Linked DNA regions of Homo sapiens: regions 1, 3, 4 and 5 are each linked to region 2. The links are contacts of gene promoters, found by promoter capture Hi-C in blood cells and fetal thymus (Javierre and others, 2016). All regions are on one chromosome and are shown on one strand. Each heading gives the region's core, a stretch centred on a gene start or on the middle of the fragment in contact. The rest is flanking DNA. Distances are from core to core; before and after follow the strand shown.

Evidence for each region. Contacts are between HindIII fragments. The CHiCAGO score rates a contact against its expected background, and 5 or more counts as called.
Region 1: a contact is called between a fragment that was not itself captured here and the fragment with the promoter of APOH in region 2, in 4 of 17 cell types (activated CD4 T cells, M1 macrophages, non-activated CD4 T cells and 1 more). The highest score is 7.4, in activated CD4 T cells.
Region 3: a contact is called between a fragment that was not itself captured here and the fragment with the promoter of APOH in region 2, in 3 of 17 cell types (monocytes, activated CD4 T cells and megakaryocytes). The highest score is 6.0, in monocytes.
Region 4: a contact is called between a fragment that was not itself captured here and the fragment with the promoter of APOH in region 2, in 4 of 17 cell types (endothelial precursors, M0 macrophages, activated CD4 T cells and 1 more). The highest score is 7.1, in endothelial precursors.
Region 5: a contact is called between a fragment that was not itself captured here and the fragment with the promoter of APOH in region 2, in 1 of 17 cell types (megakaryocytes). The highest score is 5.1, in megakaryocytes.

The regions. Positions count from the first base shown.
Region 1 is chr17:66,705,966-66,708,665 of GRCh38, reverse strand. All of the region lies in intron 8 of PRKCA (protein kinase C alpha), which reads right to left. Among named protein-coding and RNA genes, the nearest start is that of MIR634, 80 kb to the left of the region's middle. The HindIII fragment of the contact is 789 bases long and covers 881-1,669 here.
Region 2 is chr17:66,228,030-66,230,729 of GRCh38, reverse strand. APOH (apolipoprotein H) reads left to right here and starts at 1,315. Exons shown (of 8, transcript NM_000042.3): 1 at 1,315-1,414; 2 at 2,534-2,700. The coding sequence starts at 1,351. The HindIII fragment of the contact is 12,618 bases long and covers 236-2,700 here.
Region 3 is chr17:66,584,716-66,587,415 of GRCh38, reverse strand. The region is part of intron 3 of PRKCA (protein kinase C alpha); the gene reads right to left. Among named protein-coding and RNA genes, the nearest start is that of PRKCA-AS1, 170 kb to the right of the region's middle. The HindIII fragment of the contact is 1,399 bases long and covers 662-2,060 here.
Region 4 is chr17:66,630,817-66,633,516 of GRCh38, reverse strand. The region is part of intron 3 of PRKCA (protein kinase C alpha); the gene reads right to left. Among named protein-coding and RNA genes, the nearest start is that of MIR634, 150 kb to the left of the region's middle. The HindIII fragment of the contact is 2,573 bases long and covers 74-2,646 here.
Region 5 is chr17:66,650,710-66,653,409 of GRCh38, reverse strand. All of the region lies in intron 5 of PRKCA (protein kinase C alpha), which reads right to left. Among named protein-coding and RNA genes, the nearest start is that of MIR634, 140 kb to the left of the region's middle. The HindIII fragment of the contact is 1,216 bases long and covers 692-1,907 here.

The sequences.
Region 1 (2,700 bases), core at 26-2,525, 480 kb before region 2:
ATGACTTTAGGAGGTTCCTATCTCCAACTGCCATCTGCAATAGGTCACCTGCTTCTTTCTACAGGGAGACAAAAAACATTTAGCAGAGACACCTTGATACAATTGCTATGTGGCTTCACAGCCTTCCGGCAGCCACTGGGTAGTTATTCTTAGACTCAAATGGACCTAGAAAGAACTCTAAGGCTGTTTCACACTTGGACATGACAAACCATCCCAAATCTTCTCTGGGAAAAAAAAATCAAAGGAAAGGCTGAAGTGACCCAGCCCAGATACGCACAGCACCTCTTGCTCTACACATCTGCAAGAGGTCCCAGGGAATCCTTCCCGGACCACACACCTGGATGCTGGGAAGGGAGATGAGGAAGCAAAACACCTCTGCTCAAGGTGAAAGTGGCAAATGGCAGGAAGCTGCACTAGTGCCAAATGTTAACCACTTCGTTTTCAATTAAGTGCTGAAGACACGACAGCCACCGAGTTCCCTGAATTCCTGAACAAGGACATCTATGGCCCCACTTGGTCGGCCTGATGAACTGGGAAGTGCCACCATCATGTGTACATCATGGCGACAGTCCTAATGGGCAAAGAGGCCTCATCCCTGAAAACAAACTAAAACCAAAATACAACACCATGAGCACCTTGGCCACACGTTCCTGGACCCCATGTAGGGAGCTGTGATTTTGAATTCTCTGAGGCCTCTGTGGTTCTAGCTGCCTATAAAAGCCATGTTACATCAGGCGAGCCATAATCTTTTCAGCAGTGAGGCTTACTCAGCATCTCAAGAGCTGGAGATACTGCTACGTGGACAAAGAACTGACTTGTGGCCTGGGTCAGACTCCCGCTGATCTAGGCTAGCTACTGTTTAGGAGACAGGGTGTAAGCTTCCCTCCACTATGAGGGTCAGGGGTCGTTTCCAGAAAGTGGAGATAAGGTACAAGGTCTCATATCCCTTAGTACTACTCCACAATGTTCCCAAGAGCAAGGTTCTGTCTCTAGCCCCAGGGACAGTGCTTGACACAGAGTAGATGCAGCATCCACCAGTTAGAAATGTCCAGAATTACTGATTTCTGGAACCATAAAATGTATGGGAAAGAAACTGGTCCATCTTCAAGAGCAACCAGATTTGTCACACACGTGAGTTTTACACAACTGCTAGAGGAAGAAAGGGAGGTTCTCGTGGCTCTAAAATGGCCTCTCCCCTGAAGGCCTCCAACCAGCCTCATAAAGATGTTGGCTCAGACACCTTCCTCTGGGCTGTCAAAAAAGTGCAGGTGAAGGGTGGACTCCTCATGGGCCTGATGTTTAGACTTCAAAGTATTCAGAGGAGGGCCTGAGGTTCTTACTCTGGAATCAGGAAGGTGACACATCTTACAGGTGTGTCTGGCAAGTGAGTAGTCTTTAGACTGCATAAGTCAAGGCAATTTTAAGAGGCCAGAGAACCACATAAAGGGACTTGTAGGATTTGAAAAGCCTAGGACTGACGGAAGTGGAGGAGAAGGGAGGGTCTTTCCAAGGAGCACAAGCATGGGCTGAGATGCATTAATGAGCATGGTGGATGAATGGAGAGGAGTCAGAAAAGGGGGTGTCATAGGGAAGGGTGTGTGGGAAGGGACAGGGTATGAGACAGAAGCATCAACTCACACAGGAGGTCTGGGTCCTGCACTAACAAGCTTTGAACACACTCCCTTTTGCTTTTGTTTCCCCATCAACAAACACAATCTTAAACATCTCTCCCAGTTTGAATACCCTATTATTCCATTAACCCAGAGGTCACAAACTTTTTATGTAAAGGACCAGAGGGCATACATTTAGGCTTTGAGGCCCATGCAGTCTCTTTTGCAGGGACTCAACTCTGCCGTGGTAGCAAAGGAACAGCTGTGGACAACACACGAATGAATGAATGTAGTTGTGTTAATAAAAATCTATTTATAGGCACCAGATTTTGGATTTCACCAAATTTTCATGTCTCGCAAATATCCTTCTTTTTTTCAACCACTTAAAAATCCTGAAACCACTCTTTTTTTTTTTTTTGAGACAGAGCCTTACTCTGTCGCCCAGGCTGGAGTGCAGTGGCGTGATCTCGGCTCACTGCAAGCTCCGCCTCCCGGGTTCATGCCATTCTCCTGCCTCAGCCTCCAGCTGGGACTACAGGTGCCTGCCATCATGCCTGGCTAATTTTTTTTTTTTTTGTATTTTTAGTAGAGACGGGGTTTCACCGTGTTAGCCAGGATGGTCTCGATCTCCTGACCTTGCGATCTGCCTGCCTCGGCCTCCCAAAGTGCTGGGATTATAGGCGTGAGCCACCGCACCCAGCCTTGAAACCATTCTTAGCTCATAGACTGTATATACAAAAGCAGGTGGTTGGGTGTGGGTCACAGTTCACTGATCCCTTCGCTATTTAATATGGGTACTGGGGGTGATGAAGTCTATCCTTGCTGTCTTTACGACCACAGGAGACTGAATTTGTTTACTCATCAGTCAACAGGTTTCATCTTCTTGACCAGCATTTCTCAAACTTTAATGGGCTCAGGAATCACCTGGGGACCTTGTTAAAATAATATTCTGACTGGGTCAGAGGCTGGGCTGGGCTCTGAACCTCTGCATTATTAATCAGCTCCCATACTTGGAGGTGCAAGATCTAGAGCTCAAGCTGCTCGCCACTTCCTCTTTCAGGATACCCAGGGAGGTCAGAACCCTTGCGAT
Region 2 (2,700 bases), core at 66-2,565:
TGGAACACAATGTTCATTAGGATCGTAATTTAAGAATCATCTGCCTGACAGATGGAGATTTCTCAAGCTGATGTGTCTCAGGGAATTTTAGACCTCTGGATATAAACCAAGATCACCCAAATGAGAGCAAGCGGAGGTTATTTATTCAGAGCTTGCTATAGGAAGGGAGGCAGCCATTAACAGTTGTGTTTGGCAGAGACTCAAAGTCAAAGTCAGACAGAGGAGTGGGAAAGCTTTATAATAGAAAAAAGGAAAGGCTTCAGGTGTGCTCCAACGGATTGTTGGTATGGGGAGGATGGAAGGAAACTAACTAGAAGTGAGGTGTCCATGTGATTGGTTAGAGAAATATGTTTGGATTTCTCTGGTTGGCCTTAAGTTGGGCCAACTGCTATAGAGGTTGTAGGTTTGGCTTTCTAGACCTGTTGCTACAGATGTGTGGGTCAGAGTTCTGTTTTCACATATGGCCTGGCTATTGTCCATTTATATATCCTTTTTTTTTTTTTTAGAGCAAATGATGTAGAAGAGAACTAGGGAATCAAAGACAACCCCCCTTCCGAACCCTCTCAAGCAACAACATCAGCACTGGCCCATTATCTTATCCTACTCAAGTTTTTTTTTCTTCTTCGAGTCCCAAGTTGTTAATTTCAAATCAATTTTCAAATTCCTGAAACAGATCTAGAAACCTGTCTAGACAGATCCAAGACATATTAAGAATGGATGAGGAGGACTTTGTATTGATCTGACGTAAGAGAAGATAGAGAATTCAAGGATAGCTCTAAGGTCCTAACTGGAGCTATAGGAGCTTGCAAGAGAGGATGTTGAGCTCAGTTTGTAGGGAATTAAAGTTGTAAGTGCCTCCTGGAAGACATTCTTTGTAATTATACATCTGAAAACTGGAACATCATTTTAGAGAGGTGGAGACTGAGAACAGAGAGTAGGTGTTTGTCCAAAGTTTATATGCCAAGGCTGTGAGTGAAACAGGAGCTTCGATCTTTTGGTGTTCCATCTACAACATACACAAAACAAAAGATGGAGAATGAGAAGTCCAGGCAACCCCGGAAACAACAAGTTTCTGTCAAAAGCAATAATGAACTGTTTTGTGCCATTAACAAAAACGTTATGAAGACAGAAACCATCTCCCAAAGATTTCATAACAGAGCCACATAAGTGGAAAGTAAATGATTAAAGAATGTGGGTCTCAGAGTTCCATTCAAATCATGATACTTTATCTTCTATTTACAAAGATAAAAGTACACCAGAAAATGGTTAATGTTTAAGCGCTTTCATATTTGGCTCTGTCTTTTTAGCAGACGAAAACCACTTTGGTAGTGCCAGTGTGACTCATCCACAATGATTTCTCCAGTGCTCATCTTGTTCTCGAGTTTTCTCTGCCATGTTGCTATTGCAGGACGGAGTAAGTACTTTTTGCTTTTGAAAAAATAATTAATATATCCAACCCCTTCGTATATGTCAGGGATCAATAATGATAAGTAGGCCGGGCGTGCTTGCTCACATCTGTAATCTCAGCACTTTGGGAGGCCAAGGCAGGTGGATCACCTGAGGTCAGGAGTTCGAGACCAGTCTGGCCAACATGGTGAAACCCCGTCTTTATGAAAAATACAAAAATTAGCTGGGCATCATGGCCGAGGTGGGCGAATCAGTTGAGGTCAGGAATTCGAGCCCAGCCTGGGCAACATAGTGAAACCCTGTCTTTACTAAAAACACAAAAATTAGCCGGGCGTGATGGCAGGCGCCTGTAATCCCAGCCACTCGGGAGGCTGAGGCAGGAGAATTGCTTGAACCTGGGAGGCAGAGGTTGCAGTGAGCCGAGGTCCCCCCATTGCACTCCAGTCTGGGCAACAAGAGCAAAACTCAGTCAACAATAATAATAATAAGAAGAAGAATAATTAAATTCTTTTTTTTTTTTTTTGAGACAGAGTCTCGCTCTGTCGCCAGGCTGAAGTGCAGTGGTGCGATCTCGGCTCACTGCAAGCTCCGCCTCCTGGGTTCACTCCATTCTCCTGCTTCAGCTTCCCGAGTAGCTGGGACCACAGGCGCCCGCCACCACACCCGGCTAATTTTTTGTATTTTTAGTAGAGACGGGGTTTCACCGTGTTAGCCAGGTTGGTCTCTATCTCCTGACCTCGTGATCCACCCGCCTCAGCCTCCCAAAGTGCTGGGATTACAGGTGTGAGCAACTGCGCCCAGCTGATAACTAAATTCTCTTTAGAGTGGATGCTGGAGGGACTGGATTGATACTGATTCTTTAATATTGCCATGTGTAAAGCTCCTCTGTAAGATACGTAGCCAATTTAAGCCTCAGCATACTGACCTGTAAAATGGGGATAATTATAATACCTCCTTCAAATGGTTGTTGAGGGGATTAGATGAGATAGTGTATATGAGGTATTTGGCATGCAACTTGGTATGCTTATAATTGGTAACAGTACACACATTTTTCATTTGTGGGCTTAGCTGAACTTTAAAATGCAAATAGAGATTTGTTAACCATCTGCTTTGTGCCCTCTTTCAGCCTGTCCCAAGCCAGATGATTTACCATTTTCCACAGTGGTCCCGTTAAAAACATTCTATGAGCCAGGAGAAGAGATTACGTATTCCTGCAAGCCGGGCTATGTGTCCCGAGGAGGGATGAGAAAGTTTATCTGCCCTCTCACAGGACTGTGGCCCATCAACACTCTG
Region 3 (2,700 bases), core at 112-2,611, 360 kb before region 2:
AACAAGTTTCAAACGAATCTGTAGAGTGTAATACAATTTATATAAAATGTAAAACAACACAAAATGATGCTAGATTATAAGCTAGACAGATTTGCACATGCTGAAAAAGTGTACAGTAACACTGCACATCAACTTTGGGATACCTTGGAAGGAGAAGGATATAAGGGATGATAGTCCCCAAAAAATAACTTAAAATTAGCCCTAAGAAAACATTGTGTTAGAAAGAAATGTTCATAGAACTGTAGGAAAACGGGAAGAGATCAGACCTTAGTGATACCAGGAAACATACTATCACGTTCAACATCCATGGCCCCAGACCTGGATTCTGTTCATATTCTATCCCAGGAGGACAGACATTGTGAGGTTTCTGAGTAGACACTAACCACTGCCTGGACTCACAGAGACCATTCATAATGGCATCGTAGGAGCAACATGGCGGCAATAAAAGTTAAAAATAGGCCCTTCACCACCAACTCTGCCTTTGCTCCACAGCCTCACCTGTGTCTGTGCAGCCATCTAGAGTTCTAATGGCCCTCAGACCCACAACCCCAGTGCAGGTACAGGGTCTTCTTTATGTATCCCGACTGAGTCTGACATGTTATGGATATTCAGCCCATATTAACTGGTGATAGTGGATGATGACCATGAAGAAACTCAAGCTTCACTGGAGTATATACAACTTCAGACAGCAGCAAAACACTGAGCCACCTAGGGAGCAAGCTGTTGAAGGAGCTTAGTAGAAGTTATTTTGAGCTCAAAGCAGTGTTCTGTTACTGAGCATCAATAAAGCACCAGCTTCCCATTAAGGGTCTGACTTCAGGCTGGCTAAGGCATGCATAGCTTTTCTTAAACTAACTCCTAAAGGGACCAATTACTGGTCCAAGGTTGAAAGGATGGAGAAGCTCTTCCTTCTGATAAAAGGAGAGAGGATTTTGCATGCTCTGTGTCTTTTGCAGTGGCCACTGGTAGAACTCTACTCTTATCACATCAGTTGAAGATATTATTAGCAGAAAGTCACGCTAATTCTGCTGATTCCCTGAACACCTGGAATAAGATCTTTCAGTTAATAGTTAATCCTATTTTTTGAGGGCCCACTGTGTACTGAGTCCTGGGCTGAAGGATGTCACAAGTTAGGTAAAGGAAAGAAGGCAGCCACTTTCACAACATTTCTGGGGGTGGGCTTAGGGCTCCTCAGCTGTGATCTCCAGGGGCCACCTCAAAGCCTCATCTCTACTGGTTCAGATCAACAAGGTTATGGTGCCATAGCAATGGCAACCATAGCAACGACAATGACAACCACAGATATAGGTCCCTTTGCCGCACCAGGCACTGCCAAGACTCTTTATATTAACTTATTGAATATGTTAAACCATGGTCAACAACCTGTGTCATCCAGAAAGGTCAACTCCCCATTTATCTGGATTCACCCAACAGATTTGTTAATCCTCAAACATCATCCACCTGAGAGCAAGGCAGTTAATACTGAGGACCCTAAATGACTGCATTCAGACTCAAGGACACATATTGAGTTCCTGCTGTAACTTGTGCACCCTGTCAGCTACTTTCCCATATTCTCCCACATGCTTCTTGTGACCCAGAGGGGTAGACACCGTCACCTTCACTTTACACAAGACAGGAACCAAGGCTGGGAGACATTTAATAATGCCCTCCAGGTTCCAGTCTCAAGAACAGTGAGCTGGATTTCAAACTTAAGCTGCTGGCTCCCTGCTCCGCGGCTCCCCACTCCACATTGCTGGTGCCATGGGGAATGGGGAAGTGCGTCCTTGGGTGGAAACACCTGCCTGGTGGTCAGCTGAGACATCTGTGAGGTCAGCTACAGTGGCTTAAGGAGTGGTCCCAAGTCTTAATCCCCAATACCTGAGAATGTAATCTTATTTGTGCTACAGGAACTAGAAAGAAATTATTTAGGCAGTTAGCGAGGGTAAGAGAGTCCTCAGCAAGGTTTCTGTTTTAACAAAAAGCAGCCCCCAGATCATTTCTTTTCTAGCAGAGCAGCCTGTAAAATCGAGCTGCAGACATAGATAAGCAAGCTGGAAGCTTGCACGGGTGAATGCCGGCAGCTCTGCGGATAGGAAATGGCTACCTGGGGGTCAGGCGTGTTCAACATGGAGGGTCCATCTTCCCTTCTGTCAACCAGGTGTGCAATAAAGAAGCAGGCAACATGGCGCTGGCCAGGTAGAGAACCCACCTGCCTAACAAAAGATTAGGGTGGGGCAGCCATCTTCTTCCTACACTATGTAAATGGCACACCTATCTAACCAATCATTTGGGCCCTATGTAAATCAGACACCGCCTCTCCACGCTCATCTATTAACCACCACCCCCCCCTCCCCATGCATTTCACCATGGAACTGGAAGACTCACTCAGGAGCCCCTCTCTCTCTGAAGGAGAGAGAGAGCTTTCCTCTTTCTCTTGCCTATTAAACTCCTGCTCTTAAACTCACTCCTTGTGTGTCAGTGTCCTTGATTTCCTTGGCATGAGGCAATGAACCTCAGGTATTAACCCAGACGAACAATGCCACTTCATGTAGAAGTAAGGTTTTTGCAGGTGTAATTAAATAAAGACCTCGAGATAAGATCATCCTGGATTTAGGGTAGGCCTCAAGTCCAATGACTGGTGTCCTCAGAAAGACGAAGGGGATTTGACAGAGCCAAAGGGAAGAAGGCCGTGTGAAGACA
Region 4 (2,700 bases), core at 111-2,610, 400 kb before region 2:
TCTAAGTACCAAGGGAAATTCTCTGCTGTCACCATCTGATGTGTTCTCATGAATCATGCTTGTAAGCCAAGCTTGGGTCTAAATGTCACCCACATGCTGACTATATGAGAAACACCCAAAACACTGCTTCAAGGGCAAATCTAGCAACATTACTGCGATCTTAAATTTCTTAAGAAATTTAGGGAAGTAGGAAGCAGTTTTTTTTTTAACCCTATGATATAAAAAAAGACCTATTTAAAATTTTTTTGGTTAACATGAGAGGATTACCAAAACCAAGTCATATGATCAGGGTGGTTGCATGTAACTTGGGGACCACTGTAATTATTACATTGTGTATCATGTACTCAGTAAAGCTGCCATGCCCCTTCTCAGGCGGCTGGGTCTGCCTGGCCCACTCTCCATTTGGGCTTAGGATCGCACTTGGCCTCTGACCATACTGATCTTGTTGGATGTTTCCTTTTCTAAGAAAGAACGAAAGAAATTCCGTTTTTGGTGATGCTCATTAATTTCTGATCTGCAATGTAACACTTCAGTTTATTCTGGTGAATAACACTCATCTATACAGTTGGATGAACCTGTCAAACCAGGTTTTGCTAGTAGGTTTCTTATGAGTCCTTTGCCCAGCTATGCAAGATGCTGTAATCATTCAATGGGAAGCAATAAATTATTTTAAAAATTCTAGATAGATCTGTATCAGCAAGGCAATGGCTAAATAAACTGTAATATATTTATACTATGGAATACTCCATGGCAGTTAAATCAAATGAGCTAGATCTTTCTGTAAAATCATGGACAGATCTCTAAGATATATTGTCTAATGAAAACAGCAAGCCACAACACAAGACATAAAATATAATGACTTTTATGTAAAAAACAGAAACAAGCACTTTGGGAGGATCGTTTGAGCTCAGGAGTTCAAGACTAGCTGGGGCAACATAACGAGACCTCATCTCTACTTAAAAAAAAAAAATTAGCTGGGGGTGGTGGCCTATGCCTTTAGTCCCAGCTACTCAGGAGGCTGAGGTGGGAGGACTGCTTGAGCCCAGGAGGTCAAGTTTGCAGTAAGCCCTGACCATGCCACTGCACTCCAGCCTGGGTAACAGAGCAAGACCCCGTCTCAAAAAACAAAAAACAAACAAACAAAAAACAAAAAGCCCCCTCCTCTGAACAGTAAGACAGTTTTTTTCTAGATTGATAAATAAGTAAATGACTCTGGGAAAGTGTGGGGACAGATTAGGTTCAGACATGAAAGTAAAATGAGACTTTTAACATTATCTGAAAAGATTTAAGTTAAAAAATAAATCCATACATTATCTATGTAACCCAAATTACCACGAAGTCCAGCTGAATACACTGGCTATATTCCGGCTGCTTCATGAGACACCATTGGGGGAAAAGCCTAGCATGCTGGAGGAACTGGGGCGCAACCACCTCATCTCACTACACAGGGGCTTTGTTGGCAGTTTCTCTACCAATCTGCAGAAGAAGGTGTCTATATGAAGGCACTATGAAGATATTTAACACCACAAGCCACCAATACAACTCTTAATGAAAAGCTATTATTAAGACCATCTTCCTATTTCATAATATATCTTATTCATTAACATCTCAAGACATTGTTTTATGTCCAGTTTTTGCTCCATCATCAATCAACTTTAAACAAATTTATTTTTAACTTTTGTGAGTACATAGGTGTATATATTTACGGGGTACATGTCATGTTTTGATACAGGCATGCAATGTGAAATAAGCACATCATGGAGAATGGAGTATCCATCCCCTCAGACATTTATCCATTGAGTTACAATCCAATTATGCTCCTTAAGTTATTTTAAAATGTGTAGTTATTATTGATTATAGTCACCCTGCACAACTTTTAAATTTCAAAAACCTCTGATGGTTTAATATGGAATTCTGATATTAAAAAAAGATAAGCTAGGTGCAGTGGCGCATGCTTGTGGTCCCAGCTATTTGGGAGGCTGAGGCAGGAGGATTGCTTAAGCCCAGGTGTTCGAGGCTGTAATGCGCCATGATCATGCCTGTGAATAGCCACTGCACTTCAGCCTGGGCAACATAGTGAGACCCTGTCTCTAAAGTAACAGTAATAAAAATAAGATGTTTAAAATGTGTAAGTATTCAAATCACAAACCCTAAACATAACTCATTTATAAATAAGGTTATTTCCTAGGTACCTATCAATTTCTTCATTTTGCCTAAAAAAAATTATTTACCGTACACCTACTATGTGCCAGGTGGTGTGCCCACCATGTGAAGACTCCAGGTGAGGCTCAGGTCCTATCTAACTTGGAATGAAGAGACTAGATTATACTGCTAACAAATCACTTCTAACTTTCAGTGGCTTTCCACAACAAAAATTTATCTCACTTTTCACTTAGGGACTTTAGCAGTCACTATCTAGGACATATGCAATCTCACAGCAGAGGAAAAAAAGAAATGGCAGAGTACTCAACGGCTCATATATCTCCTGCTTGGAAATGGTGTCATCATTTCTGTTTGCATGTCACTGGCCAAAGCAAGGCACATGGCCAATCTGGAAGTCAACAGGGCCGGGTGTAATAACCTCCCCAGAAGGGGACAGCAAATATTTTAAATAATAACACAATCTACAATGGCCCTCAGAAAGCTTAGTATCTACTGCCATTTTATATTATTTGGTAAAGAGCCACAGGATGGGTTAGG
Region 5 (2,700 bases), core at 50-2,549, 420 kb before region 2:
GTTGCCCAGACTTGTCTCAAACTCCTGGGCTCAAGAGATCCTCCTGCCTCAGCTTCCTGAGTAGCTGGGACTACAGGAATGAGTCACCATGTCCAGCCTACTTCTTACACATATGTACACATACCTACATATGACTCCTTTAGCTGTTTAACTCACATTTTCTTTTCTGCCTGAGCTATTTGGAAAATGGGGGTCATATACAAGCTCTTGGGGACATAGACCACTAGTGGCTCCCAATCCCAGGCAGCCCCTGCCCATCCATGTAAGTGTACAGTTCCCAGAACCTGCCTGTGGCAGTCTGGCCGGCTGTGTCATGGCAAGTCCCATGCAGCCAGTCCCAGGTGGCTCTAAGGAAATGGTCAGTGACTCACCTGTTTAACGGGGGCCAGGGGCCAGGGGCCAGGTGAGTGCTCTTCATGAACCAGGCTTCTGGGCCCAGCCTCAGTGCAGAACCACAAGGAAACACAGCGTTGGGTTGAGGCAGAATAATTGTCTCCTTTGGTCTGCCATCCACAAAAGGAAAGGCGTTGGTGGCCATGGACAGAGGCAGGGGAGGGTCATAGAGTAAGAGGGTGGAGGCAGGGAAGCTTAACTGCTGAGGCGCTCTGATGGCTGCTTCAGCAGGGGCTTCCTTCTAGCCAAGAATGACCTCTACAGAGTACATTTAAATACGATCAACTGAAACAAAGCTTCAGACATAGATATCATTGCCCAAGTTTTTGGGAGTGAAGTTGAAAGAACAGTACAGTGAACACCTATATCACTTTCTAGAGTCACTATTATTCCGCCACAGGTGCTCTTGCCTGCACACACGCTCTCTTCTTGGCCCCAACCCCCGCCTGGTCCTATTTTCAGATTTCTGTCTGTTTTTTTGCTTTTGTTGAACCATTTGGAAGTAGGTTGTAGACATTAGGAAAAAATGACCCCTAAAATATTTCAGCATTCCCCTCCAAAATCACATGACCATTACCACCCAGAAATGTCACACTGGTACAAAAACATTCTCTAAAATACAGTCCAGATTCAACTGTCCCCACTGTCCCCAAAATGTTCTTTACAGCTGTTTTTTTCTTGGATCCAGGATCCAACCAAGTGTTACAGATTGCATTTGGTAATCATGTCTCCTCATTCTCTTTTAATCAAGAATGGTTGGCCAGGCACGGTGGCTCACGCCTGTAATCCCAACACTTTGGGAGGTCAAGGCAGGTGGATCACCTCAAGTCAGGAGTTCGAGATCAGCCTAGCTAACATGGTGGAACCTTGTCTCTACCAAAAAAACAAAAATTAGCCGGGCATGGTGGCACACACCTATAATCCCAACTACTCGAGAGGCTGAGGCAGGAGAATCGCTTGAATCCAGGAGGCGGAGGTTGCAATGAGCCAAGATTGCACCATTGCACTCCAGGCTGGGTGACAGAGTGAGACTGTGTCTCAAAAAAATAAATAAACAAATAAATAAAAAATAAAATAATCAAGGTTAAAACCATTAGGTGGGAGGTTGCTGTTCATCAAGTATGACATCCAGATTCCTTATTAATTACAAACAACAACAACAACAAAAATACCTTTGCAGTTGGAGGGATCTGCTGAGAACGCTGAACCAGGTGGTCAAATGCAGGATCACCAACAGTGGACACTCTGGGTGCCCCTGAGGATAAGCAGCTTCTTGCCAGCACCCTCTCCCTCTCCATCCCAAACCAAAGGAGCAGATACATCTGCTGCATCACCATCTACGTTCCTGATCTGGATCCAAATCCCATAACCAAGATTTATTGAACAGAAATGACTTCCAACTAATGCCTTTTCCTTTAAATAAGGAGCTTGGTGCATCTCCTTGCTGGCAGCCTCCAACAAGTTATTATATTCCACAGCCTGCCTGTCACTGCAAAAGGTACCTGTGCAAAGCTTTTAGGCAAAGGTTGGGCTACCTGCTGCGTCTCCTTACCCAGCAATGATAGAGAAGGTCTCTGCTCACTGTGAATCTCAGGGTGATGTGTAGAGTTCAGGCTAGGAGACTGATGCTCTGTTCTTGTTGAAAACGTAGCTACCTGGAACTTAAAATCTTCCTGTTTTAAAAAGAAATATTTAACTCAGAGCCTGTGCGCATGGCTCCTAAGGATTGTGCAACTGGTAAACTGATGATTGCAGCTCTCATACTTTGAAAATGGAAAGAAACAAACTTCCCTCCAGCTCTCTCCAACTCTCACTTGAACTTCCTGACATCCTGGATGGTGCTGAGCTTCCTGAACACACTCTGCATCTTTGCCTGGAATGCCCTCTTCTTCCTTCCCTGTCCTCCCGGCTCCACTGCACTTCCGATGTGAAGCTGTCACCTGCTGCCTCCCCAGGGCCACTGAGGCTCCCCTTCTCCCAAACTCCCACTGCAGGTACAGCACCCGCCAATTCTTTTTCATGCCTGAATTCTCCCCCAAAGACCACACAGTCTGTGACACGGTCTAGGTCTTAATCATCTTAGCATCCCTGGTGCCAGGAAGAGAGCAGGACACACGCTCAATAATGTATGATCAATGGGTGAAGCAAAAAAAATGAACGATTATCATACAAAGCTGAGGCTCATTTCCTTCATTCTGTAACAAATACACCATGGTAAGGTGGAAGAACACACAGAGGGAATATTATTGTTTTAATTACAATAAGATGAGGGTGAGTCTCCATATCTGCAGGGGTGACAGACATCAA